4 separate regions of the Homo sapiens genome follow, and regions 1, 2 and 3 are each linked to region 4. Evidence: promoter capture Hi-C in human tissues and cell types (Jung and others, 2019). All regions are on one chromosome and are shown on one strand. Each heading gives the region's core, a stretch centred on a gene start or on the middle of the fragment in contact. The rest is flanking DNA. Distances are from core to core; before and after follow the strand shown.

The links. Contacts are between HindIII fragments. The study calls those that stand out against the background at their distance.
Region 1: a contact is called between a fragment that was not itself captured here and the fragment with the promoter of HMBS in region 4, in 1 of the 25 tissues and cell types used here (dorsolateral prefrontal cortex).
Region 2: the fragment with the promoter of PHLDB1 here is called in contact with the fragment with the promoter of HMBS in region 4 in 1 of the 25 tissues and cell types used here (stomach).
Region 3: a fragment that was not itself captured here is called in contact with the fragment with the promoter of HMBS in region 4 in 1 of the 25 tissues and cell types used here (spleen).

What each region holds. Positions count from the first base shown.
Region 1 is chr11:118,704,247-118,710,616 of GRCh38, reverse strand. It overlaps LOC105369519 (a long non-coding RNA gene), which reads right to left. Exons shown (of 4, transcript XR_007062909.1): 3 at 5,779-6,009; 4 at 1,774-2,235. It overlaps LOC124902766 (endogenous retrovirus group K member 7 Env polyprotein-like), which reads left to right. Exons shown (of 3, transcript XR_007062912.1): 3 at 1-1,280. Among named protein-coding and RNA genes, the nearest start is that of TREH, 28 kb to the right of the region's middle. RefSeq lists an enhancer at 5,402-5,903. The HindIII fragment of the contact is 5,774 bases long and covers 1,643-6,370 here.
Region 2 is chr11:118,603,205-118,609,321 of GRCh38, reverse strand. PHLDB1 (pleckstrin homology like domain family B member 1) reads right to left here and starts at 1,707. Exons shown (of 23, transcript NM_001144758.3): 1 at 1,623-1,707. LOC124902765 (a long non-coding RNA gene) reads left to right here and starts at 811. Exons shown (of 2, transcript XR_007062908.1): 1 at 811-1,199; 2 at 2,134-6,117. RefSeq lists enhancers at 1-536, 574-868, silencers at 996-1,065, 1,126-1,215 and a cis regulatory region at 4,475-4,670. The HindIII fragment of the contact is 15,479 bases long and covers 1-6,117 here.
Region 3 is chr11:118,757,678-118,763,972 of GRCh38, reverse strand. DDX6 (DEAD-box helicase 6) reads left to right here. Exons shown (of 14, transcript NM_004397.6): 7 at 667-761; 8 at 3,929-4,051; 9 at 5,071-5,199. Among named protein-coding and RNA genes, the nearest start is that of DDX6, 30 kb to the left of the region's middle. The HindIII fragment of the contact is 8,956 bases long and covers 1-6,295 here.
Region 4 is chr11:119,081,735-119,088,422 of GRCh38, reverse strand. HMBS (hydroxymethylbilane synthase) reads right to left here and starts at 3,542. Exons shown (of 14, transcript NM_000190.4): 1 at 3,357-3,542; 2 at 115-168. The coding sequence starts at 3,389. It overlaps VPS11 (VPS11 core subunit of CORVET and HOPS complexes), which reads right to left. Exons shown (of 16, transcript NM_021729.6): 16 at 6,451-6,688. RefSeq lists enhancers at 3,265-3,314, 3,244-3,941. The HindIII fragment of the contact is 11,043 bases long and covers 3,023-6,688 here.

The DNA of each region.
Region 1 (6,370 bases), core at 3,280-5,779, 380 kb after region 4:
CTGCACTCTAGCCTGGGCAACAAGGTGAGACACCATCTCTAAAAATAATAATAAAAAAATAAAGTCTGGTCAGGTGCTGTGGCTCACGCCTATAATCCCAGCACTTTGGGAGGCCGAGACAGGTGGATCACGTGAGGCCAGGAGTTTGAGACCAACCTAGCCAACACGGGGAAACCCTGCCTCTACCAAAAAATACAAAAAAATTAGCCTGGTGTGGTGGTGTGCATCTGTAGTCCCAGCTACTCGGGAGGCTGAGGCGGAAGAATTGCTTGAACTGGGAGGTGGAGGTTGCAGTGAGCCGAGATCACACCACTGCACTCTAGCCTGGACGACAGAGTGAGATCCTGTCTCAAAAATAAAGTCGGGGGGCTGGGTTCAGTGGTTCATACCTGTAATCCCAGCATTTTGGGAGGCTGAGGTGGGCAGATCACTTGAGGTCAGGAGTTTGAGAGAGACTGGCCAACAACAGTGAAACCCCATCTCTACTAAAAAAGTACAAAAGGCCGGGTGCCATGGCTCACGCCTGTAATCCCAGCACTTTGGGAGGCTGAGGCAGGTGGATCACGAGGTCAGGAGTTCAAGACCAGCCTGACCAACATGGAGAAACCCCGTCTCTACTAAAAATACAAAATTAGCCGGGTATGGTGGCACATGCCTGTAATCCCAGCTACTCGGGAGGCTGAGGCAGGAGGATCGCTTGAACCAAGGAGGCGGAGGTTGCAATGAGCCAAGATAGTGCCATTACACTACCAGCTTGGGCAACAAGAGTGAAACTCCGTCTCAAAAAAAAAAAAGTACAAAAATTAGCCAGGCTTGGTGGTGTGCCCCTGCAGTCCCAGCTACTCGGGAGGCTGAGAGGTGAGAATCTCTTGAACCCAGGAGGCAGTGCTGCCATTGCACTCCAGCCTGAGCGACATAGCAAGACTCTGTCTCCAAAAAATCAATAAATAATAAAAAATAAAGTCCAGGTGGGGCACGGTGGTTCATGCCTGTTATCCCATCACTTTGGGAGGCCGAGGTGGGCGGATCACCTGAGGTCAGGAGTTCAAGACCAGCCTGACCAACATGGAGAAACCTCATCTCTACTAAAAATACAAAATTAGCCGGGCATGGTGGCACATGCCTCTAATTTCAGCTACTCGGGAGGCTGAGGCAGGAGAATCCCTCGAACCTGGGAGGCAGAGGTTGTGGCAAGCCAAGATCGTGCCACTGCACTCCAGCCTGGGCAACAAGAGCAAAACTCCATCTCGAAAAATGAAAAATATTAAAAAAAAAATAAAGCCCAACTAAAAAATTTTTTATGTTTGCAAATTTTATAAATGCATATGATCATGTTAACACCAGGGCTTTAGTAAGTGAGCAGTCTTGAAGCATAAGCATCATTAGCTTTATGGTAAATATGCCTCTGATCCTGGGGAAATAGGAATATCCACACCTTCCAGGGGTTATTCAATCTTGCTCTGAGCTTGACTGATCCTCAGAGACCTAAACTACCCACAAGGTTCCAGTCAGAGTAGGGACATGTGGAGGTCAGGCAATTGGATGGAGTCTTGGCTATAGGATGTCTACCATTGGGACTGGAGACACATCTTGTACATTAAACCAGTGGCCAATATATGGTTCCATCTTCCCCACAGGTGAGATGTGTGGGTCCAGGAAGCAAGGCCTGGAGAGGAGAATTATGCTTTTCACTATTATTCCTAATAACCCACTAAAAAAGTTTGCTTCCCATTGTAAGAGTTAAAGAAAGAGGGAAGAAACACGAACTGTGGCTCAATTTAACGACAGATGTATTTTAGAGAAAATAAGCCGGAGAGGGGCTTCTGGCCAATTTTGTTCAGGAGCACTTTCTCTTACGGACTAAGAGTATATATTGGTTTTAGGATGAGGGGGCTTATTACAAGCTCAGAATGTTTCTGTGTGGGGGAGAAGTTTATGGCAGGGTTGGGATGTCTCTGGTCGGAGGGGAGGTTATCTTGGGTCTGACATCTTTCTGGCCGGAGGGGAGGTTATCTCAGGGCTGGCATGTCTCATGGAGGGGTTTGGAATGTTCCTGGTCAGAGATGTTATTTATGGTTTATGGTCATGCTGACCTTAGCCATCAGGCTGATATCCTTTGGGTTTAGGCAGTTTTTGATCAAGGGGAACTTCAGAATGACCGTGCTTGTCCAAGATGGCGATGCTTTGGCTCTGTCACCCATCATCCCACAACATTGACGCTGGAGGTCCTGGGGCCTAGAAAAGAAATGCTGTTAGAGGAAACAGTCATGCTTCTGATGAATCGGAAGTTGAAGCTACTCCCTGCTCATTTGGGGCTCTGCATGCCATAGACCAAGAAGCAAAGAGAGGGGTTATGGTAGTAGGTAGAGGATGGACCCTGATCACAGGATGAAACTGGATTGCTGCTGTTGAAAAGGGGCGAGGAAGACAGTGTCTGAAATCAGAGACATCACTGGAGCACTCCTAGTCCAACAGTCCTAGTCAATGGAAAACTGTGGCCACCCCCAAATACAATGCAACTGTCTTAGTCTGTTTTCCATTGCTATAACAAAACACCTGTCTTAGTCCAACTGGGTAAATTACAAAGGAAAGGGGCTTACTTAGCCCACGCTTCTGGAGGCTGAGAAGTCCAAAATGGATGGCCACATTTGGTGAGGGCCTTGTGCTGCTTCTAGCATGGGAGAAAATAGGAAGCAGAAGAGGGCACGCGGCCAGAGGCAGCCTTGCTTTGTAACAACTGGCAACTGCAGTAATCAATCGAGTCCCACAAGAAGAACTCACGCACTCCTGCGCTAATCCCTTCGTGAAGCTGGATCCCTCATGACTCAAACACCCCTTAAATGTCCCGCCACCTCTCAACATCATTACAGTGGGGACCAAGCCTCAAGATGAGTTTCGGTGGGGACAAACAATGTTCAAACGATCGCAGCGGCCGAGGACTCAGACCCTGCAGGAATGAAGATTTGGGTCACCTCGCCAAGTAGAGAACCCTGTCCAAAAAGGTGCCAGCAGAGGTAAGGTGAGCACAGAATGGAAGTTATGATTACCTGCTTAGGTTTTGGGGACAGCTAAGGAGGTGGGGACTGTAGCAGCTACATTTCATGAATTTGGGGCTTTTTTTCTTCCCCATCTCAATCCATTCTCCATCTTAATCCATCTGGGTTACTGTAACAGAATACTATAGACTGGGTGTAGCATAAATCACAGAAATTTATTTCCCACCGTTCTGGAGGCTGAGAAGCCTCAGATCGAGGGGATCGAGGAGCCAGCGGATTTGGCGTCTGGTGAAGGCTTGCTTCATGGCTCATAACCAGCATCTTCTTCATGTGGCCTCACATGTCAGAAGGCACAAAGGATTCCTCTAGGGCCTCTTTTATAAGAACCTGATCCCACTCATGAGGACCGCATCCTCGTACCCTAATCACCTCCCAAAGGCCCCATCTCACACCATCCCCTTGAGGGTCAGCATTTCAACACAGGAATTGCGAGGAGACGTAAACATTCACTCTGTTGGGTTGGGCACCATGGCTTACGCCTGTAATCCCAACACTTTGAGATCAGCAGTTCAAGACTAGTCTGGCCAACATGGCAAAACATTGTCTCTGCTAAAAATACAAACATTAGCCGGGTGTGCACTTGCAACCTCAGATACTTGGGAGGCTGAGGCAGGAGTCACTTGAGACTGGGAGGCAGCAGTTGCAGTGAGCAGAGATCATGCCAGTGCACTCCAGCCTAGGGGACAAAGCAAGAAACATCTTAAAAAAAAAATTCACTCCGTTGCACCCCGTTTTACTCATTACCTTAACTGAGGAACACCGGCGATTTCAGCTGAGAGTATGACCAGCTGACATCAGTCCACAATGATATGGTAGCTATTACGACTTATAGATCCCCTGTGTTAGGCGAACAAGCTCTTCACCTGGACAAAAGTCTAGAGCGGGTGCTGAGAGGCCAAAGGGCTGGGCTGGGCTATTTACCTTTTGTTTGCCCCTCCGTATGCACCCCCTCACCATCTCCACCCTGCCCTCTGAGGCTGACCAGTGTGGTCCACATCCACCAACTCCCGTGGCAGGTGGCCAGAGGGAGACAGGAGAGGGAGGTCAGGGTGTTTATTTCCCTGGCTGGCTGTATCCCTCAAGGGACAATGACATCTTCTCTTCCTGGGGCCTCGCAGCACCGCTCTCTCCCTGTGGGTGCCAGGGACTGTTCTCCCCTTCATCCCTTCAAGCTTCGTGAGGGCACCGCCTGGCTGCTGCTAAACTCTGGATTACTGCGCCATCCTTTGTGGTTCCCCGACACCCACATCTTTGCAAATAAACTCTCCTCCAGTGATCCTATTTTGAATATGCCATCTGTTTCCTGGTGGGAGACCAACTAATACAGTGGGTTTTATGCCAAAATGACTCTGCTAACAGTTTCATATTTGAACTGCAACTTGTGGTGTCCTGGCTTTTCCCTCTTAAAATCGGAGCTGTTTTGAGGAGAGCCTGGGAGTGCCTGCCCGTCACCCTGGCAAAAGGGCGAAGGAACACAATGTAATCATCTAACATGGTGCCTGGGGCAAACAGACTCAACTGCTGGAAGATTCTTTCCAGTTCCCCATTTCCCTGTTATCCCATTAAGGGCCCCAGGCTCCGTACTGCAAACGAGGCTGCTGGAGGGAGTCAGCATCCTTTGTGTGCCTATAATGCAAGTTCGTGATTTGAAGCAGGGAGGGGTTAGAGTCATCTTAGCAAAAAAAAAAAAAAAAAAAAAAAAAAAAGAGAGAGAGAGAGAGAAGCTATATTATTGAAGGCCTGCTCAATTCTTAAATGTTAATACACTTGCAAATGCAAAAGGAAAGAAGAAAAGACATCTAATTTTATAAGTTTGGAAACAAACAAAACCAGACTCCAAGCAGGACAAACCCAGTCCACTGGCAAGCAGGCGTAGACTGAACGCGAAGTTAATGAAGCTGAAGTCCCAGGCACCGCACTTGCATGAGGCCCTTCAAACACCCTCATCCTAATTTTGTATTCATAATTTGATTCTTTTTCTTAAAGAGGCCTCCCCAAATTATTTAAGCTTCAGGTCCCACAAAACCAAGCTCCGCCCTCTGGCAAGTGATTATTTTGCCTCCTCTCCAGTACACAATGAGATTCTGTTTGGGACACTTCAGTGACCTTTTTGTCTGCCCGCTTACCCCATCAGAATTTACATACATTCTGGGTTCATACAAACAAAATAACGGCTCAGAGGAGACGTGAGCTGTGCTCCGTGACAGTGGCAAGGCTGCAGCCTTGGCCACAATGAGAGCTCTCGCTCTCTGGGCTTCACCCATAATAAGGACACGTGAATGGGTGGGATGACAGACAGGAAACACTTCCCCAGCTTCCACCGGGGCAGGGCATGCAACCACAGCAACCACAGGGCATGGGGCGATTATTTGACTTCCAAGTCCAAATTAGAACATCACAACCAGCTGGGCGTGGTGGCTCAACGCCTGTAATTCCAGCACTTTGGGAGGCCAAGGCGGGTGGATCACCTGAGGTCAGGAGTTCGAGACCAGCCTGGCAAACATGGTGAAACCTCGTCTCTACTAAAGATACAAAAATTAGCCAGGCATGGTGGCGGGCACCTGTCCCAGCTACTCAGGAGGCTGAGGCAGGAGAATCGCTTGAACCTGGGAGGCAGAGGTTGTGGTGAGCCAAGATTGTGCCACTGCACTCCCAGCCTGGGTGACAGAGACTCTGTCTCAAAAACAAAAACAAAAAAATCACAACCACCATTAACCACTACCTCGAAACTCTGTGGCTTCACATCGTGGAGTGGGAGTTGTCCTCAGCTCCTCATGCCAGGGGTAAAGATTCTTCATTATTCAAAAAAGGTGCCATCTGATTTGCTTCAGAAGTCTAACATTTTGTGAACCCTTTGACACTGCCGTTCCAGGTTCAGGAGTCTGTTGTAAGGAAATAATACTACAGTGCATAAAGACATGAGTACTCAGGCGTTCATTCTCCCCAGCGCTGTCTGTAAGAAAAAAAGGAATAAACTAAAATGTTTATGTTTATTCAGTGCTTAGTGATAAATAATTAAATAAATGTTGACACATCCACATAGTAGAATGCTGTGAGGCCATTAACATTAGAAGGTGGTAGAAAACATAATAACAGCCGTGCACGGTGGCTCGTGCCTGTAAATCCCAGCACTTTGGGAGGCCTAGGCGGGCAGTATCACCTGCAGGTCAGGAGTTCAAGACCAGCCTGGCCAACGTGGCGAAACCCCATCTCTATTAAAAATACAAAAATTAGCCAGGTGTGGTGGTACATGCCTGTAGTCCCAGCTACTCAGGAGGCTGAGGCAGGAGAATCACTTGAACCTGGGAGGCAGA
Region 2 (6,117 bases), core at 458-2,957, 480 kb after region 4:
GTGTGTAAGCTGGGCTGTGTGTGTAACTGGGGCTGTGTGTGTGAGCTGGGCTGTGTATTGAGCTGAGCTGTGTGTGTGACGGGCTGCGTGTGTGAGCTGGGCTGTGTGTGTATAACTGGGGCTGTGTGTGTGAGCTGGGCTGTGTGTGTGACGGGCTGCTTGTGTGAGCTGGGCTGTGTGTGTGAGCTGGGCTGTGTGTGTGACGGGCTGCTTGCATGAGCTGGGCTGTGTAACTGGGGCAGTGTGTGTGAGCTGGGCTTCGTGTGTGAGCTGGGGCCTCGTGTTTGACTGGGGTGTGTGTGTGAGAGCTGGGGCTGCGTGTGTGAGCTGGGCTTCGTGTGTGAGCTGGGGCCTCATGTGTGACGGGTACGTGTGTGAGCTGGGTTGTGTGTGTGACTGGGGTGCGTGTGTGAGGTAGGCTGTGTGACTGGGGTGCATGTGTGAGCTGGGGCGCGTGTAAGCGGGGCTGCGGGTGTGAGGGGCTGCGTGAGCGCGGGGCGCTTTCCTGTGAGGCGTAAGGCATGGAGTGCGTGGGAAGGCCTCGGCGTGTGGGCGGGTCCGGGTGTGTCTGGGTGGCGTGACGCAGGGACGTAGGTGTGCGAAGTGTCGCGGAGGCGTGCGTGTGTGCCGCGTGGGAGCCCGGCGTGGTGGGGCGCCTGCGTTTGCGTTTGACGGCTGGGGGGTGAGCCCGCCGCCCGATGAGTCAGCCTCGGGAGGCTCCAGGACCGCTGAGCTAACGGCCCAGAATGCAGCCCCGCCCCAGAGCCGTGGGTCCCCGGCAGGGCTGTGCGGTCGCCCGGCCAAGTCCCCACTCGAGCCTGCCTCGGCGGAAGCGCTAGCGGGCGACTCGGCCACCCTGCGCCGGCGCCCCTACCCAGCCGCCCGCCCGCACTTCCCTATCCCGGGGGAGCCCGGATGACTTGGGTCAGCCTCCGCTCGGGGAACTCCGCTAGGGATTCCAATAGGGACCGCGCGGGCGTGGCAAGGCGCCCCAGGCGGCCTCCCCGGCCCCCGAGGACGTGGGGCCTTGGGGAGTGCCTGGGAGGCCCCAGGCGGGCTTCCCATCTCCTGGACACCCCCAGGCAGCCCTCCTAGACGCTCAAGACTCTGAGCCGGACTCCGAATCCCTTCCTGGTCCATCAAGGCGGCCGGCCTGGGGACAGGCGGGGAGACGTCACAGGAGATACCCCCGCCCCAAGGTCCTGCTGTGGGCGGAGAGGGGGAGGTGTGGGGCGCTGGAGGACGAAAACCCGCGCGCGCGCTCGCCGCCCGATACCCCGCGAGTGTCCGCCCGGCCGCCTGGGTGCCGGCGGGAGAGTCTGGATAGGGCCAGGATCAGAGTTTCTCCAAGGGGGGGAGAGCGTCACGGCCCCCTCTGGCGGTGGCGTTGGCAGCGGCCGAGGAAGGCAAAAGCAAGAGGCTCACAGGAAAACTCCCCATAACGCTCCTTTCGCCCCCACGCACTCACCTGGGGTGCCCTCTCTCCCCCACGGGTTTCTGCCGAGCTCCCTAGCCTAGAGCTGATCTCAGGGCTCTCGCCAGGCCCCGGGGACTTCCCCTTATCCAGTCCTAGCACCGCAGCGAATGGGACCCGCAAGTGTAGTGGGACGGGGCGCTCTTACCTAGAGGTGGGGGGGGGGCAGGGAGACACTGGTCCCTTAGCCTGGCTCGGCTCGGTCGCGGTGGCCTCAGGCTTAGGAGGACACCGTTGCTTTTCCCCGGGAGCTCGCTAAGTAGGAGGAGAGCGAGCCTGTCCCGCCCCCCTCCCGCCAGTCCCCGCCCCCGTCCCCCGTCCCGTCCGCCTGGCCAGCCAAAGAAGACGCCCTTGTGGGGCTGGAGCCCAAGGTCCCCCCACCCACCCTTTCCCACAGCAGCACCTCCCCCAGCCTGCACAGCGCCCGCTTTGTTCATCTTTGCAGCTGGGCTCTCCACCATCACCACCACCACCACCACCACCACCACCACCACCACCACCACCACCACCACCACCACACATCCCCCTCTCCTCCCACCCTGCCCTCCCGACTCTCCTAGACCACCCTCCACTCCCAGGCTTTAACACGCTTTTGAGAGGGTGTTTTTGACAATCCGTTCTCCCTCCCCCAAACTCTCCCCTCTTTCTTTTTGCCTTAGATGCCTGAAACCTCCACGGGCTCCCACTGAACCTCCCAAATCGAAGCCCCTACAACATGCTCTCAACATCTCCAGAACATCTACTGAGGGTACCCAGGTCTTCTCCCTGTCACCTCCTCCCCTCGCCCTATTCCAAGCCCCACCATGAAGAGCTGTAAATGACATTGATAGCCACGCACATCAGGCTTCACAGACTTTCTTAAGGATAGGCACAAGAAGACTCGTTAAAGTGTCATGCAAACTCCAAAGCACAGGAAAACCGAATGGAATTATCATCTTGCCCCCATGGAGCTCCACACCCCTCCACCCCGACAGACTTGCTGGATTACAGATTGGGAGATGGAGGCAGGCTATAGACATACAATTGAGCACACCAACCTGTAGTAGGAGTGGGAGTTAATAAGGAAGAGAAGGAGGCACTAAACACCTAAAAGCAGCCCCCAAATTGAGCTAGGTTGAAGTCATTCTCCATCTCAACCTCCACTCCGAAATCCAACGCTGACAGTGGATCCTTACCTTGCAAAGCCAGCTCTTGGTCCAGGAGACTGGCTGGGGAGGCCCTAGGGAGCTGAACTCAGCTGGACTGGACTTCTTTGACCTGCACTAGAGGGACCCTGGAGACTCTTCTTCACTGAAGGAAGGAGCAGAAAGCCTGTAAGTCTGGTCTAAATTCCAGCTGGGGTGGATAGCAAAAAATAATTTATCCTCTTTGAGATGGACAAGTGCTGTTCTAATTCAATGAGTTTAGTTTGTGCCGTCTCTCCCTAACCCAGGAACAGCAGGAGGCTGAACTACAGGAATCTCTGGTCACTCATTGACAGGGCTGGCCTTAGCAGGGGACCCCCCACGGCTGGAGACTGAAGCTGACCGGGGCCAAGCAGCAGACAAGGAGGGGGAGGGGAGAGGCCGCCCTTTGCTGCCACCTGCTATAGCTAATGGAGGTGGAACACTCAAGATCCAGAATATGCTGTGGGTACCAGGAAGTCCTAGGATTTGAGGAGCGAGACTCTAGTTTTTCCTCTCTTCATACTGTTTGAAGTCATGAAAGTAATTCTGATGAACCTTCATGAGGCAGATCACAACAGTAATATTCAGGCTATTTGGGTATGTAAAAAAAGGAAGAAGGAAAAAACCCAAACTGTTGTATCCCATGTGCCAAGACCCAGCACTGAGGGGAGGGGTCCAGATTGCAGTACCTCAGAGGCTTTTCACTTCATTCTGTTTCACGGCCCCCAGCTCCTCTTTACTGTACTGGGCAGGAGGAATTTCAGGGAATAATCAAGCCTGCCATGGAGGCAGTGGATGCTGAGGCAGAGGGTCGAAACAGCACCCAACTTCTCTCACTGACCTCCCAACACAGGGACCAGCTGACCCTATGATAAAGGCGCTGTGCAATGTGTCCTCTCCCCTGCTGTGTCAGGCCTCTATGTTCCCACAGTTAGAGCACTCAGGGGACTAAAGACCTACCGCCCCCACTCTCCATCTCCGCCCTGCTCCACATCTGGAGCCCATCAAAAAACTCAGCGCTCTCTCACAGTTACGCAAGAGGTCGAGCAGCTGGGAGCTCAGGAAAGGGGGAGGAAGAGAGGGAAAGAAAGCAGAAAACAGCTTTCCAGGCCTGCTTCAGACTTTCCGAAGTGGAAGCAGGGGGAGAGGGCAAAGCCTGGGTGTGGAAGGAAGAGTGGATTTTTCTAAGGCCCTTTGCATTGGCTACAAGTGTCAGGAGTGAATTTCCATACTCCTGCTTTTGCCTTGGCACATTCCCCACTTTGTCCCACCTCTCAAATTGTACTCCCTCTAGCCCCAGAGAGGTGATTATTGCTCATACAGCAAGCAATCCTTGTAGATACACACCCTCTTCCAGAAAGCTGTCCGTTTCTGGCCTCTGGATCCTGAAGTCAGGCATCATTGGTGTAGGCGTGGTGGTAGCAATGACCCTGCAGCAACTTGGGGAAAAGTTCAAAGCTCTCTTTTCAGCTGTCTTAGAAATTGCATAGTCTGCTTCGACCCAAAGCTAACATGCATCCAAGCTAAGTGGGAAATTTGGGTAGGACAGAAGACTGGTCTTGTGTACCTCCAAGGCTAAGGGCTTTCCTAATGAGCTAAAAGAACAAGCATTCATTTGGGCAAAAGAATGGGAGACAAGACCTATTTCAATTTCTCTCATTGTCTTGAATTTCTAATGCTTCTTTCAAACAGCCCCTGTCCTGGTTTGGTAATCAATCTGATCACCCAGAGTAAACCTAGGGAAGCTTTCCAGTATTGGTTTAGACCCTAAATAACCACTTAGCCCCTGCCCTAAGAACAGCAGGGCAAAAAAACTGCGGTGGGGGATGGGAGAAGTGGTCCAAGCTTCTGAAAACTGCCTAATAGCTTGACTTGTGATTGTGAGAGGGAAAACAGCCTGGTTTGGAAAGATAGTCTAATTTTTCTAAAGGCCTACCTCCGTATCAATCCCCAACTCCCCAGGATAAGACGTTAAGGCAGCTATTTGTAGTGTTGCTGTCTGCCCTTGGGTAACAGCAATGCACAGCAACCAACCTACTTGTGGATCTTCTAGGACAAGGGAATTGGGGGTAAGGGGGTTGTAATAAGACAGATGTGCATAGCAAAAGAAAATCATTTGTGAGGTTTTGCTTGAGATTCCTCTAGAGCCTACAAGACAGAAGCCATGTTACCTACTCTCATATAGATCCATGTTTAGTACTAGCTGTAGTTAACACTTGTCTAACTTGGAAAAAAAAAGGCTTCACAAGCAGATAGTCATTGCTTCCAGTTAGACTTTAATCTTCTTGAGGATGACTTTTTCCATTTTTCTCCTGTCTCCTTCCAATAAGCCCTGTCAGATGTGAAGTTTAATAAAAAGCTATTCTATATCAACCCTGGAAATCTCAGACCCTAGCCAGTGTGAACAACTTTAAAACTGTTCACAATTTAAAAATTAATTGGAGGGCAAAGTTTCCCATCAGAGATGCATGGGTTGACAAATTTGAAGCTATGGTGAGTAAAGGAATGACAGACCTTAATCATTTCATTCGATTAAGGCTACAGTCTCAGACAGCTAAGCCACACTTGAGCAACATTAGACCAGATACTTTTTTTCACCAAGAAAAAAAAAATCAGAATCTTGGCTTTCAACATTAGAAATTTCTCATCCCAGATACTTAATAAGTGAGAATAATTTGCCTTCCAATTTTTTGACACCCAATAGTTTTTCCAAGTTAAATTTTAAAAAAGCATAAGAAAGTAAGCAGCTCTGGCGGAGCGCGGTGGCTCAGGCCTATAATCCCAGCACTTTGGGAGGCTGAGGCGGGCGGATCACGAGGTCAGGAGTTTGAGACCAGTCTGACCAACATGGTGAAACCGTCTCTACTAAAAATACAAAAATTAGCCGGGGGTGGTGGTGTGGAATGCCTGTAATCCCAGCTACTCAGGAGGCTGAGGCAGGAGAATCACTTGAACCCTGGAGGTGGAGGTTGTGGTGAGCCGAAATCATGTCACTGCACTGCAGCCTGGTGACTGTCTCAAAAAAAAAAAAAAAAAAGGCTGGGCGCGGTGGCTCACGCCTGTAATCCAGCACTTTGGGAGGCAGAGGTGGGCGAATCATCTGAGACCAGGAGTTCAAGACCAGCCTGACCAACATGGTGAAACCGTCTCTACGAAAATACAAAAAAAATTAGCCCGGCATGATGGCGGGTGACTGTAATCCCAGCTACTCTGGAGGCTGAGGCAGGAGAATCGCTTGAAGCTGGGCGACCGTGGTTGCAGCGAGCTGAGATCGCACCACCACACTCCAACCTGGGCAGCTAAGCGAGACTCCATCTCAAAAAAAAAAAGTAAGCAGGTTTATCTGAGGGAATTATCAACAGTTCCCAAAAATTGTTCCCATTATCCCTCATCCCTGGATCACTTCTCATCACGGTCTAATGGGGAAGAGAAGACTCCAAGACTCCAAGATTAAAGATGAAGCCTGACTTTTTTGAC
Region 3 (6,295 bases), core at 1,024-3,523, 320 kb after region 4:
ACAAATATTTTTTAAGCATCCTGTGGTGAAATGGAAGTCTTTATCCTAAAACACATCTTTGTGCCTTTTTGTGTTATTTCCACCTCTATAACACAATGTGTTTCTTCTCTTTCTTTCTTTTTTTTTTTTTTTTTAATTTGAGACACAGTCTTACTCTGTTGCTCTGGCTAGAGTGCAGTGGTGTGATCTCGGCTCACTGCAACGTCTGCCTCCTGGGTTCAAGCGATTCTCCTACCTCAGCCTCCTGAGTAGCTGGGATTACAGGCTCCCACCACCACACCCAGCTAATTTTTGTATTTTTAGTAGAGACAGGGTTTCACCGTGTTGGCCAGGCTGGTCTCGAACTCCTGACCTCATGTGATCCACCCACCTCGGCCTCCCAAAGTACTGGGATTACAGGGATGAGCTACTGCACCCGGCCTAGTTGTTTCTAATAAAAGATAGTCATGTGCTGCATACAATGTTGTGGTCAGTGACGGCTGCACGTATGTCGGTGTTCCCATAAGATTATAATGGAGCTATACAATGGAGTAGGCTATACCATCACATAGCAATGCATTTCTCAGAATTATCATTAAGCAGCTCAGGACTGTAATATTATAAACCTTTATCCTCTTTGCTCAAATTAAAATTAATGAGAATGTATGTTTTCTAAATCTTGCATAGTGCACGTGGTGATTGCTACCCCTGGGAGAATCCTGGATCTTATTAAGAAAGGAGTAGCAAAGGTTGATCATGTCCAGATGATAGTATTGGATGAGGTAATGTCTCTTCATTTGGCATTATACTGTTCTGTACTTTTCTGTGCTTTGCTTATAACTGCCAGTGAATGAAGCAAAAGCTGCTTGTGTTTATGATCTAATAAACACATAAACAATCAGTTTAAATTAATTTGCTTATAAAATGTGTTTTACCCGTCAGAGGGAGTAGATTATAGGCATTCATTGGAATTCAGCATTTTGTCTTTTTCTTAGAGATAGCAGACATTAGGTTTTAATTTTTTAGTAGAGGAGTGAATAACCTCAATGCCAAATTTATTCTAAGTCTCTTTCTGCTCTGTGATTAATTTTTAAAAGCATATAATATATATTGTCTCTTCTCATTTTGTGCATACTACTTTGTACTGTTTGGTTTTTAATCTCTGTTACATGTATTATCTCACCATGTTATAAATGCCTTTTAAAAACTTATTAAAATCTGTAGTCCTGGGATCTAGCCATGTTTTGTACATGTACAGATGGTCCCTGACTTAAGATGGTTCACTTTACAGTTTTTCAGTGGAAGTGATAAGCTTTCATTAGAAACTGTACTTTGAATTTTTAAGATTGATATTTTTCCTGGTTAGTAATATGCTATATGATACTCCCATGATGCTGGGCATCAGCAGCAAACTGCAGCTCCCAGTCAGCCACATGATGATTGAGGGCAGACAGCCGATACTCTACAGTATACGGCGTTGCAGGTGATTTTGCCCAACTGTAAGCTAAGGTAAGTGGAGCATGTTTAAAGGAGGCTAGGCTGAGCGATGATGTTCAGTAGGTTTGGGTAATATTTTCAACTTAGGATGAATTTATCAGAACATAATCCCATTGTAAGTCAAGGAGGATCTATAGTGATCAGCGTTGTTAATGTTTTGACATGAGGTTATTTTCACATTTGGGTTGAGGTTTATTATTATTATTATTATTTTTTTTTTTTTGAGACAGACTCACTCTGTCACCCAGACTGGAGTGCAGTGGCGTGATCTCGGCTCACTACAACCTCTGCCTCCCCGCTTCAAGTGATTCTTATGCCTCAGCCTTCTGAGTAGCTGAGATTACAATTATGTACCACCCACGCTCAGCTAATTCTTGTATTTTTAGTAGAGGCGCGGTTTTGCAATGTTGGCCAGGCTAGTCTCGAACTCCTGACCTCAGGTGATCCTACTGCCTCAGCCTCCCAAATTGCTGGGATTACAGGCATGAGCCACCACGCCCGGCCTGGTTTGTGTTTTAGGTAACATGATTTAATTCAAATCAGACTTTTATCTTTAAGTAATGAGAGAGAACATTTATTAATCACTGGGTACCAGCACTAAGTGCTTTACATGGTTTGTTTTTTTTTTTTTTTTTCCATTTAATTTTTACAAGAAACCTATAAGGTAGGTATCCTGTCAAGTAGTTACTATAGTATGTAGACATCCAACTTCTAATTTGCTTATAAAATACGTTTTATACTTCAGATGCAATAGATAGGCATTCATAGGAATTCAGCTTTTTGTCTTATAGATGCCAGAGTTTAGGTTTAATTTTTAAGAAGAGGAGTGGCTGGATAACTTGAAAGTCAAGTTTTTTCTTTTTTGTTTTGTTTTGTTTTGTTTTTGAGACAGAGTCTCGTTGCCCCGCTTGGAGTGCAGTGGTGCGATCTCAGCTCACCGCAACCTCCACCTCCCAAGTTCAAGCGATTCTCCTGCCTCAGCCCTCCCGAGTAGCTGGGATTACAGGCATGTGCCACCATGCCGGGCTAATTTTGTACTTTTAGCAGAGACAGGGTTTCTCCATGTTGGTCAGGCTGGTCTCAAACTCCCGACCTCAAGTGATCTGCCCACCTAAGCCTCCCAGAGTGCTGGGATTACAGGCGTGAGCCACCACACCTGGCCTTAGCCAAGTTTTTTCTAAATCCCGGTAAAGTAGTTACTACATTATGTAAACATCCAAATTTTAATAGTTTTACAATTTTAGAGTTGTGGAAACTGAAGTACAGAGTAGTTCTGTAACATTCCCACACAGCTGAGAAATGAAGGAGGCAAGATTTCAACCTGGCAGTTTAGCTCCAGAACCTGTACTTTTTTTTGAGACAGAGTCTTGCTCTGTTGCCCAGGCTGGAGTGCAGTGGTGCGATCTCAGCTCAACTGCAACCTCCATCTCCCAGGTTCAAGCAGTTCTTCTGCCTCAGCCTCCTGAGTAGTTGGAATTACAGGCGCTTGCCACTGTGCACAGCTAATTTTTGTATTTTTAGTAGAGACAGGGTTTCACCATATCAACCAGTCTTGTCTTGAACTCCTGACCTCAGGTGATCCGCCCGCCTGGTCCTCCCAAAGTGCTGGGATTACAGGCGTGAGCCACTGCACCCGGCCTCAGAACCCTTACTTTTTTTTTTTTTTTTTTTTTGAGACGGAGTAGTCTCGCCCTGTCGCCTAGGCTGGAGTGCAGTGGTGTGATCTTGGCTCACTGCAGCGTCCGCCTCCCAAGTTCAAGCGATTCTCCTGCCCCAGCCTCCCGAGTACCTGGGATTATAGGTGCGTACCACCACGTCCAGCTAATTTTTGTATTTTTAGTAGAGATGGGGTTTCACCATGTTGGTCAGGCTGGTCTCAAACTCTTGACCTCGTGATTCTCCCGCCTCGGCCTCCCAAAGTGCTGGGATTACAGGCGTGAGCCACCGCGCCCGGCCAGAACCCGTACTTTTAAACACTACACCATACTACCTCTTTAATGAGAATCATCACATTAAAATTCTGTTGTGGAGCTGGGCATGGAGGTATGTGCCTGTAGTCCTAGCTACTCAGTAGGCTCAGGCAAGAGGATCACTTGAGCCCAGGAAGTTCAGGCTGCAGTGAGATACGATTATGCCACTGCACTCCAGCTGGGTGACAGAGTGAAATGCTGTCTCTAAAAATAAATAAATTAATTAAATTCTGTTACAGAAAGCGGGGGAGGTTGTCTGTGTAGTGTAGAATTTTTTTTTTCCCCTAGAAGATGGGGATTATAGATTTTGCCCCCTTCTGCATATTTGACTCTCTGCAGTGTTGGAGAGAATTTATTGTTTTCCACCAGGAACATTTCATGGATGCTTTTGTTGGATGATGCCTTATTCTTTGACCATGTATTAACCAAGACCTTAGACATTATTTTATTGTTTTTAAAATTGTCTTTTCTTTCTACTGCAGGCAGATAAGTTGCTGTCACAGGATTTTGTGCAGATAATGGAGGATATTATTCTCACGCTACCTAAAAACAGGCAGATTTTACTATATTCCGCTACTTTCCCTCTTAGTGTACAGAAGTTCATGGTGAGTATAAATCTGTACTTGGAATCAGTGCCATCCTGTGACCTTTGAGTATGCTTTTATTTGTAATTACATCTTCATATCTGTGAATATACTTTATGCTAATTATTTCAAGCCTTTGGCTCTTTCTTCAGTTGATCAATTAAAGATTTGTTTTACGTAAATTAACTGACTTTTTAAGAAGGTTGTAATAGTAACTTAATTAAATTCCTCATCTTTCACTTAGTTTTTGGTGTCATGATGACATAGCCATTGGTGCTAGCTGAATTGATTCCGGTATTATTCTATATACAAAACAGAGCTTGAGTATCCTAAACTGAAATCCAAAATACTGCAGAATTTGAAACCTTTTGAGCCACGAACATGATGCTAAAAGGAAATGTTCTTTGGATTTTGAATTTTCAAATTAAGGATGCTCAGTCACTAAGTGTAATGCACATATTCCAAAATTAGAAAAAATTTAAAACCTGAAACACTTCTGTTCCTAAGCATTTTGGGTAAGGAATACTCAACCTGTAGTAACTTAGCTGCATTTTTGAGATCTTATATCTTAATTTATTTCTATCGGGTCGGGCATGGTGGCTCATGCCTGTAATCCCAGCACTTTGGGGGGCCGAGGCGGGCAGATCACAAGGTCAGGAGTTCGAGACCAGCCTGGGCAACATGGTGAAACCCCGTCTCTACTAAAAATACAAAAATTAGTCTGTTATGGCAGTGCATGCCTGCATTCCCAGCTACTCGGGAGGCCGAGGCAGGAGAATCACTTGAACCCGGGAGGTGGAGGTTGCAGGGAGCAGAGATCGTGCCACTACACTCCAGCCTGGGTGACAGAGCAAGATTTTGTCTCAGGGTGGCAGGGGGGAAATTCTGTAATGACAGATCATATATTTTGTTTTGAAGAGAGTTGCGTCCCTTACAGCAAGAGTTTATCGGACAGAAACGTATAGGGTATATTTTGAATTTGAGATGAACTCTGCTTTCATTTAAGACGACGACTCATCTTTTTCCCGCTCCCCCCCCAGAATTCCCATTTGCAGAAACCCTATGAGATTAACCTGATGGAGGAACTAACTCTGAAGGGAGTAACCCAGTACTACGCATATGTAACTGAGCGCCAAAAAGTACACTGCCTCAACACACTTTTCTCCAGGGTAAGAAGTAGGCTTCTGCTGTTGAATATTATCTCTCGAGTCCCAGTAAAACAGATGATTTCATCAATTTTCCCACCGTCTTCACTGTATAAAAGTTCGTAGTGTTTCTGGCTTGGCACGGTGGCTCATGCCTCCCAGCACTTTGGAGGCTGAGGCAGGCAGATCACGAGGTCAGGAGTTTGAGACCAGCCTGGCCAACATGGTGAAACCCCATCTCTACTACAAAATACAAAAAAATTGGGCATGGTGGCGTGTGCCCATAATCCCAGCTACTTGGGAGGCCGAGGCAGGAGAATTGCTTGAACCCAGGAGGCGGAGGCTGCAGTGAGCTGAGATTGCACCATTGCACTCCAGCTCTGGGCGACAGAGCAAGACTCCGTCTTGGGAAGAAAAAAAAAAAGATTAAAAAATAATTCATAGTGTTTCCTAAAAGGCAGGTTTAGTTGTTGACCTAAAGTTGATACTAAATGATTAACCAAGTCACAGATACACTTTTGAATAGTTTCTGAAATACTTTGACCTTAACTAGGGTTAATCCTCATTATTCACATATTCTGTATTTGTGAATTTGCTTAGTCACTAGAATTTATTTGTAACTCCGGAATTAATACTCAAGGTAGTTCAGCAGTCATTTGTGGACGTGTACAGTGTGGCAAAGAGTTTAAGTCACCTGACATGCACATTCCCAGCTGAGGTCGAAGAAAGCAATCTCTGTCCTCTTGTTTAGCTCTCATACTGTGAACAAGGGTCCTTTTCACAGTCTGCCATGTTTTTCAAGTTTTTGTTGCTGATTTCACAGTTTTAATTGGCCCCTACACATGGTGCTGAAGTGCTGCCCAATGCTGGTGGCATTGGTTGTGAGTATATTAAAGAAGGTATTCTTGGCTGGGCACAGTAGCTCATACCTGTAATCCCAGCACTTTGGGAAGCCGAAGTGGGCAGATCACCTGAGGTCAAGAGTTCAAGACCAGCCTGACCAACAGGCTGAAACCCTGTCTCTACTAAAAATACAAAAGTTAGCCAGGCATTGTGGTGGGTGCCTGTAATCCCAGCTACTCAAGAGGCTGAGGCTGGAGAATTGTTTGAACCCAGGAGG
Region 4 (6,688 bases), core at 2,293-4,792:
AGCCACCCCATCTCCTTCATACTAGGAACTAACCCTCTGAGTCCCCCAATTTGTGATGCTGTGAGCATCATAACTGTTCTGACAAACCTCCTCCACCCCGGCTCCTGCACCCACCTGGCTCTTGCGGGTACCCACGCGAATCACTCTCATCTTTGGGCTGTTTTCTTCCTGCAGAAAAAGTCCCCAGGTCACAGTCCCCTCTGTTTCTAGTGTTCCTCAACACCTTGTCCAAGAACCAGAATCACTGGCTTGGAAGAAAGGAACTTCAGAACCTGGCCTGTGGCCAGCTGAGTCTCAGAGTGGGGAAATACTCCAAGGCTGGTCCCTTTAACCTTCCTCAGTACCTTCTGCCCTCCTCAGGGATCCAGAGAAGCAGAGACTAGAGGGAGGCGATAGTAGGACCTGCTGTTGCTGCCGCTGCAGTAACCAGGACACTGAGCCCTGAAGCCCACCTTGACCAAGGCAGTTGTCAGTGGGAGTGCTGTGCACAGCCAGGTGGGTAAAGAGATAAGGCCCATCAGCCTGGCCACAGGAAGGGTGGGGCCTGCAGCTGGCAGGGGCAGGGCAGCCAGGACCACACTGGGGAACCTGTGCTGAGTCACTGGAGGATAGATTCATTATCTACAACAGACAAGGCACTTGAGAAAATTTCAGTGCCATCCAGATGCCACATGGAGTAGACTAGAGTCTAAGAGCAGCAAGCTGCCACCTTCTCCAGCAAGAGGCCCAGATGTCTGGCTACAAAAGAAGTCAAGAGGATGAAGATCCCACAGTGGGGAAAGCTGACAGTATTAAGGGTCCCTTAATCTGGCTGGACTGCATGCATTAAGGACTGAGGTAAACGGATCTGACGTACAGTCCTGCTCAGCCTCTTGGCTGGGTGACCTTGGGTACACTGTCCCACCAGGATCTGTTTGTTCATCTATAAAATGAAAAGGTTGGACTCAGGTTTCTTCTGCCTCAGATGTTCCATAAGACTAGGAGGCTGCGCTGCCTAAAGTTCGTGCACCTAGAGTGCTGCCTCTGGTTTCACCAACATGGAAATATTAACAGGCCAGAGCCCAAGTCAAGAACTCAAGAGGACACGCCTCTTCCTCCTGCCAGAGTACCTTGGACAAAAGTATTCACTGCTAAGCACGTAGAACTGAATTCTTCAGTCTAAGACGGAGGTCCCATTTCTCTCTTTTTTTTTTTTTTTTTTTAGACAGAGTCTCACTGTTTTGCTCAGGCTGGAGTGCAGTGGCGTGATCTAGGCTCACTACAACCTCCACCCCTGGGTTCAAGCTGGAACTACAGGCATGTTCCACCATGCCCAGCTAATTTTCACATTTTTAGTAGAGACGGGGTTTCACTGTGTTGGCCAGGCTGGTCTCGAACTTGTGATCCTCCTGCCCCAGCCTCCCAAAGTGCTGGGATTACAGGCGTGAGCCACCACGCCTAGCCTGATCCCATTTCTTTCTACATCAGACAGTAGCCACTGTAGATACTGATACTGTCGACAGTCAACATTCCCTGATCTGGGATGTTCATCCTATGTAGTTCCTTTTTTTTTTTTTTTTGAGACAGAGTCTCCCTCTGTTGCCCAGGCTGGAGTGCAGTGGCATGTTCTCAGCTAACTACAACCACTGCCTTCCAGGTTCAAGCGATTCTCCTGACTCAGCCTCCCAAGTAGCTGGGACTACTACAGACGCACACCACCATGCCCAGCTAAAATATGTGTGTGTGTGTATATATATATATATATTTTTTTTTTTTTTCTTTTTTTGAGGGGGAGTCGCGCTCTGTCACCCAGGCTGGAGTGCAATGGCGCGGTCTCGGCTCAGTGCAACCTCCACCTCCCAGGTTCAAGCGATTCTCCTGTCTTAGCCTCCCAAGTAGCTGGGACTACAGGCGCATGCCACCACGTCGGCTAATTTTTTGTATTTTTAGTAGAAACGGGGTTTCACTGTGTTCCCTAGGCTGGTCTCGAACTCCTGAGCTCAGGCAATCCACCTGCCTCGGCCTCCCAAAGTGCTAGGATTACAGGCATGAGCCACTGTGCCCGGCCTAATTTTTATATTTTTAGTAGAGACGGGGTTTCACCATGTTGGTCGGGGTGCTATGGAGTTCTTTTGCACCCAGACATCTGGGGCCTCTATTGCCGAAGCAGGTGACAGCTTTCTGCCCTCAGACTCTGGTCTACTCCATGTGATCACTCCAATAAATTAACCCTGGGAGACCCTTTGCAAATTAGGCTAGGCTTGATATTAAACGTGGCCACCAAAATTCTGGGCCACAGGGAGCCCACAGAAAGGACTCTAAGGTCCCAGAACTACTAGGTTCAAACAATTCCTTAAGTTCATTGAATGTGCACAGCATATCCAAGTCAAACCGTTTCATTAAAAAATAAAACACTGAGCACTTCTATGTTGAAGCTATTGCTTTTGCATATTGTTGTCGTCTCAAAAATCCTATCAGGTGGACAAGACAGGCACCTTTGGGACCATGTTACAGAAGCAACGGGTGGCATCAAGGGATGAGGTGACTTGCCTAGGGTCACAGAGCTAATAACCGAAAGAGAGTTGGGGCCACAATTCAGATCTTCCTACTCCTAGTCCAGGGCTCTGGAATGACTGCAAGAGCAAAGATCCCAGCCCTCACCAACAGGCTGGACAGGGGGAGATTAGCAGCTCCCCATCTCTTTCTTATCTCGGCCTGGCAGTGGCCTCCACCAGCTCTGCAGTTTGTCTGTGCACAAGCCCAGGGCTCGGCAAGCAGGCTCGTAATGGAAAGGCCCACGGCGGCCTCCCACCCACGGTAGTAATTCAGTAGGTGTGTCACAGCTGGGGACTTGGAGCGTTGGCTGTGGCTGGGAGACCACTATAACACAAAAAGAAGGCGCACTTCTAAGACGTTTGTGTGCAGTTCGGAGGCTTGGCTGATACTCTCTCCTATGAATCAAAAGTGGAACGTGTCTTCCCAAAGGGGCCGTATCTGCATCCGCCTCAGCCCAGCCTCGAATGAAAGGACCCCGTCTGTGTAGACGAACGTTCTTGGTCTGGGTCACTAAATCTAGAGCCGTGCATCCCAGGCCTGATGGGAATCCCACCCAGATGCCCGCAGGGACCGGAGTTCCGTTCCAAACAATCCTTCCACTCTTAACCCAGTATCACCGCTCTCTGATTTCCCCATTCCTTCCGGAGGGCAACCGAGCTACTGGCCCTTTAAAAGCTACTCGGACCAAAAAAAAAAAAAAAAAAAAAAAAAAAAAGATAGCCGTTCTGACCAATAGACGACTGAGGATGGCAACCTGGGGCCAATCGCTGCACGGCTCGTCCAGAAGCCCAAAGTGTGCTGGTCACCGGCTCAGCACTCACCGCCGTTGCAGCCGCATTGCCGTTACCAGACATGGCTCCGCTTGGAAAGTAGGCTGTGTGTGGGTGCCGCTAAGGTCCCCCGGCCCCGGGAAGCCGGGGGCTCCGGCCGGCGAGTACCGGGGACACGTGGGACCCGAGGTCGTCCTACAGTCTGACTCCTGGTCTCCGCAGAGCCTCGCGTCACTTCCGGCGCCCTCCCTCGAAGGGGAGGTCCCTCCCTCTGGGCGGGAATTGGAACATTGCGACAGTGGACCTCCCCATTCGACCACCCCATTCCCCAGCTGTGACATGAGCAAGTAGTGCAGCTTCTATGGCGCTTCCTTTGCTCTGTTCAAACTTAGCTTTGCTACAACCTTGAAATAGGCAGCATTTTTCTTTTTGATACGGGGTCTCACTGTGTCCCCAGACTAGAGTGCAGCGGCATGACCACGGGTCACTGCAGCCTTGACCTCCCGGCTTCAGCGATCCCCCCACCTCAGCCTCCCAAGCAGCTGGGACTACAGGCGCACATCACCACGTGGGACTAATTTCTAGATTTTTTTATAGAGACAGCGGGGAGGTGGCCTCACTATGTTGCCCAGGCTAGTCTCGAACTCCTGGACTCAAGCAGTCATCTCGCCTTGGCCTCCCAAAGTGCTGGGATTACAGGCGTGAGCCACTGGCCCAGCCAGCATTTCAATTCTTAAAATGAGGAAACTGGTTCAGAGAGATTAAAGGTCATGCCTAAAGACAAGTAACTGAAGTGGGAGCACAAACGCTACATGTAGTGAGAAAAGGGCTTGTTAGGAAAAGTGCTTTCCCATGAACATAATTTTTTTTTTTTTTTTGAGACGGAGTTTCGCTCTTGTTGCCCAGGCTGGAATGCAATGGCACGATCTCAGCTCACTGCAACCTCCGCCTCCCGGGTTCAAGCAATTCTCCTGCCTCAGCCCCCCGAGTAGCTGGGATTACAGGCACGCACCACCACACCCAGCTAATTTTGTATTTTTGGTAGAGATGAGGTTTCTCCATGTTAGTCAGGCAGGTCTTGAACTCCTGACCTCAGGTGATTCGCCCACCTCGGCCTCCCAAAGTGCTGGGAGTACAGGCGTGAGCCACCGCGCCTGTAATCATGAACATAATTAACAATCATGATTATTAATAATCACCCAGCTAGGTGCAGTGGCTCACACCTATATTCCCAGCACTTTAGGAAGCCAAGGCAGGAGGATTGCTTGAGCCCAGGAGTTTGAGACCACCCTGGGCAACATGGTGAAAACCTCATCTCCACAAAAAATACAAAAATAGCCAGGTGTGGCGGCACACACCTGTAGTCCCAGCTATTCAGGAGGCTGAGGTGTGAGGATCGCTTGAGCCCAGGAGGTCGAGGTAGCTGTGAGCTGTGGTGGTGCCACTGCACTCTAGCCTGGATGACAGAGTGAGACGCCCATTTTTTTTTTTTTTTTTTTTTGAGATGGAGTTTCACTCTTGTTGCCCAGGCTGGAGTGCAATGGTGCAATCTCAGCTCACCGCAACCTCCACCTCCCGGGTTCAAGCAATTCTCCTGCCTCACCCTCCTGAGTAGCTAGGATTACAGGCACCTCCCACCACACCCAGCTGGTTTTTGTATTTTTAGTAGAGACGGAGTTTCACCATGTTGGTCAGGCTGGTCTTGAACTCCTGACCTCAGGTGATCCGCCCACCTCAGCCTCCCAGAGTGCTGGGAATACAAGCATGAGCCACCGCGCCCGGTGAGACCCTGTCTTAAGAAGAAAAAAAAAATCACCCATGTGCTCAGCACTGTACAAAGAACTGAACACCTATTTGATCCTTAGGCTTTCATAATAGCCACACAGCATAGGTGTTATAATCCCTAACGTACAGATGAAGACACAGGTTGAGGGGGAAAGGGTGGGAGCAGGGTGAGGGATAAGAGACTACACATTGGGTACAGTGTACACTGCTTGGGTGATGGGCACCAAATCTCAGAAATCACTACTAAAGAACTTATTCACATAGCCAAATACCAACTGTTCCCCAAAAACCCACTGAAAAAAATACATCTCAAAAAAAAAAAAAAAACATGTTGAGAAGGTAAGATGTGCCTTAAGTCAAACAGCACAACTAGGATTCAAACCCAGCTCAGTAGATGCAAAGTCTACTCATAGCATAGCAGCTACAATACTGCCACTGTTTTTTAATTTTTTACTTTTTGAGACAGGGTGTCTGTCACCCAGGCTGGAGTGCAGTGGTGTGATCAAGGCTCACTGCAGCCTCAACTTCCTGGGCTCAAGCAATCCTCCCACCTCAGCCTCCTGAGTAGCTGGGACCACAGGCAAGCGCCACCAGGCTGGGCTAGTTTATTTTTATTTCTTGCACAGACGGGGTCTCACTATGTTGCCTGGGTGGCTGGTCTTGAACTCCTGGACTCAAGCGATCCTCTCACCTCAGCCCCGCAAAGTGTTGGGATTACAGGCATGAACCACCGCGCCCAGCCCATGGCAATCCTAAATACTACCTAAACCACAGTGTCAAACTTACGTCCTCCAATTAAACAACGTAGAAGATGAAATTAGGTGAGGCTGTGGGGAAAACGACAACATAGGAGCAATTTTCAGACAGGCAGCACCACCCAAATTACACGGGGACACCTAGCAACATAAACTTTAGCTGACAATTTCAGAGAGGGAAAGGTGTTTCCAGAAAGGACCTTTTATCCCGTTTATCATCTGGTATTAAGTATAGCAAGACACCAACCTACCCATTATTTAAGGTAGGTTAAGCCCAAAGCTCCCTACCAGAATCTGCCTCCTGCTTGAATATTTTGCCCAAACTACAGCCATAGAGACCAGGAAGAGGAAAGAGTAAGAGCTGTTTTGGGGGTCTTGGTCCAGGCTGCTCCTGGAGCTCAGTCATTAGGTCTTTTGCAGAGGTTCTTCAGTAAATTGAACTGTATGCGATGCCACAGGCCCCACCCATTACCAGAACGAGACTGAGTCAACATGGTCTCCAAGAAAACCGTAGGAGGGAAGTGGAACGCCAGGAGAGCAGAGGGAAGGAAGTCCATCATGCAGTTAAGAATCACCAGGAAGTCCCCAGAAAAAAATCCTTAAGCTCCCAAATCATTATATTCTTTTATTTATAGACTCTGAGAGCAAGGACCCAAGCACAGCCTGGTGCTCTTGGATAGAGAAGAAAGCAGCTATTGTCCACACTCAGAGGTTGCTGAGGTGCCCTCCCCCACTGATCTGGAATGATCTACACTGCTAGTGAAGAGGAGGGATGGCAAGCTGACTAAATAAGAAGGCAGGGAAAGAAAGTCCGCTTTAGTTCTGAGGGCTGTGACATTAGAT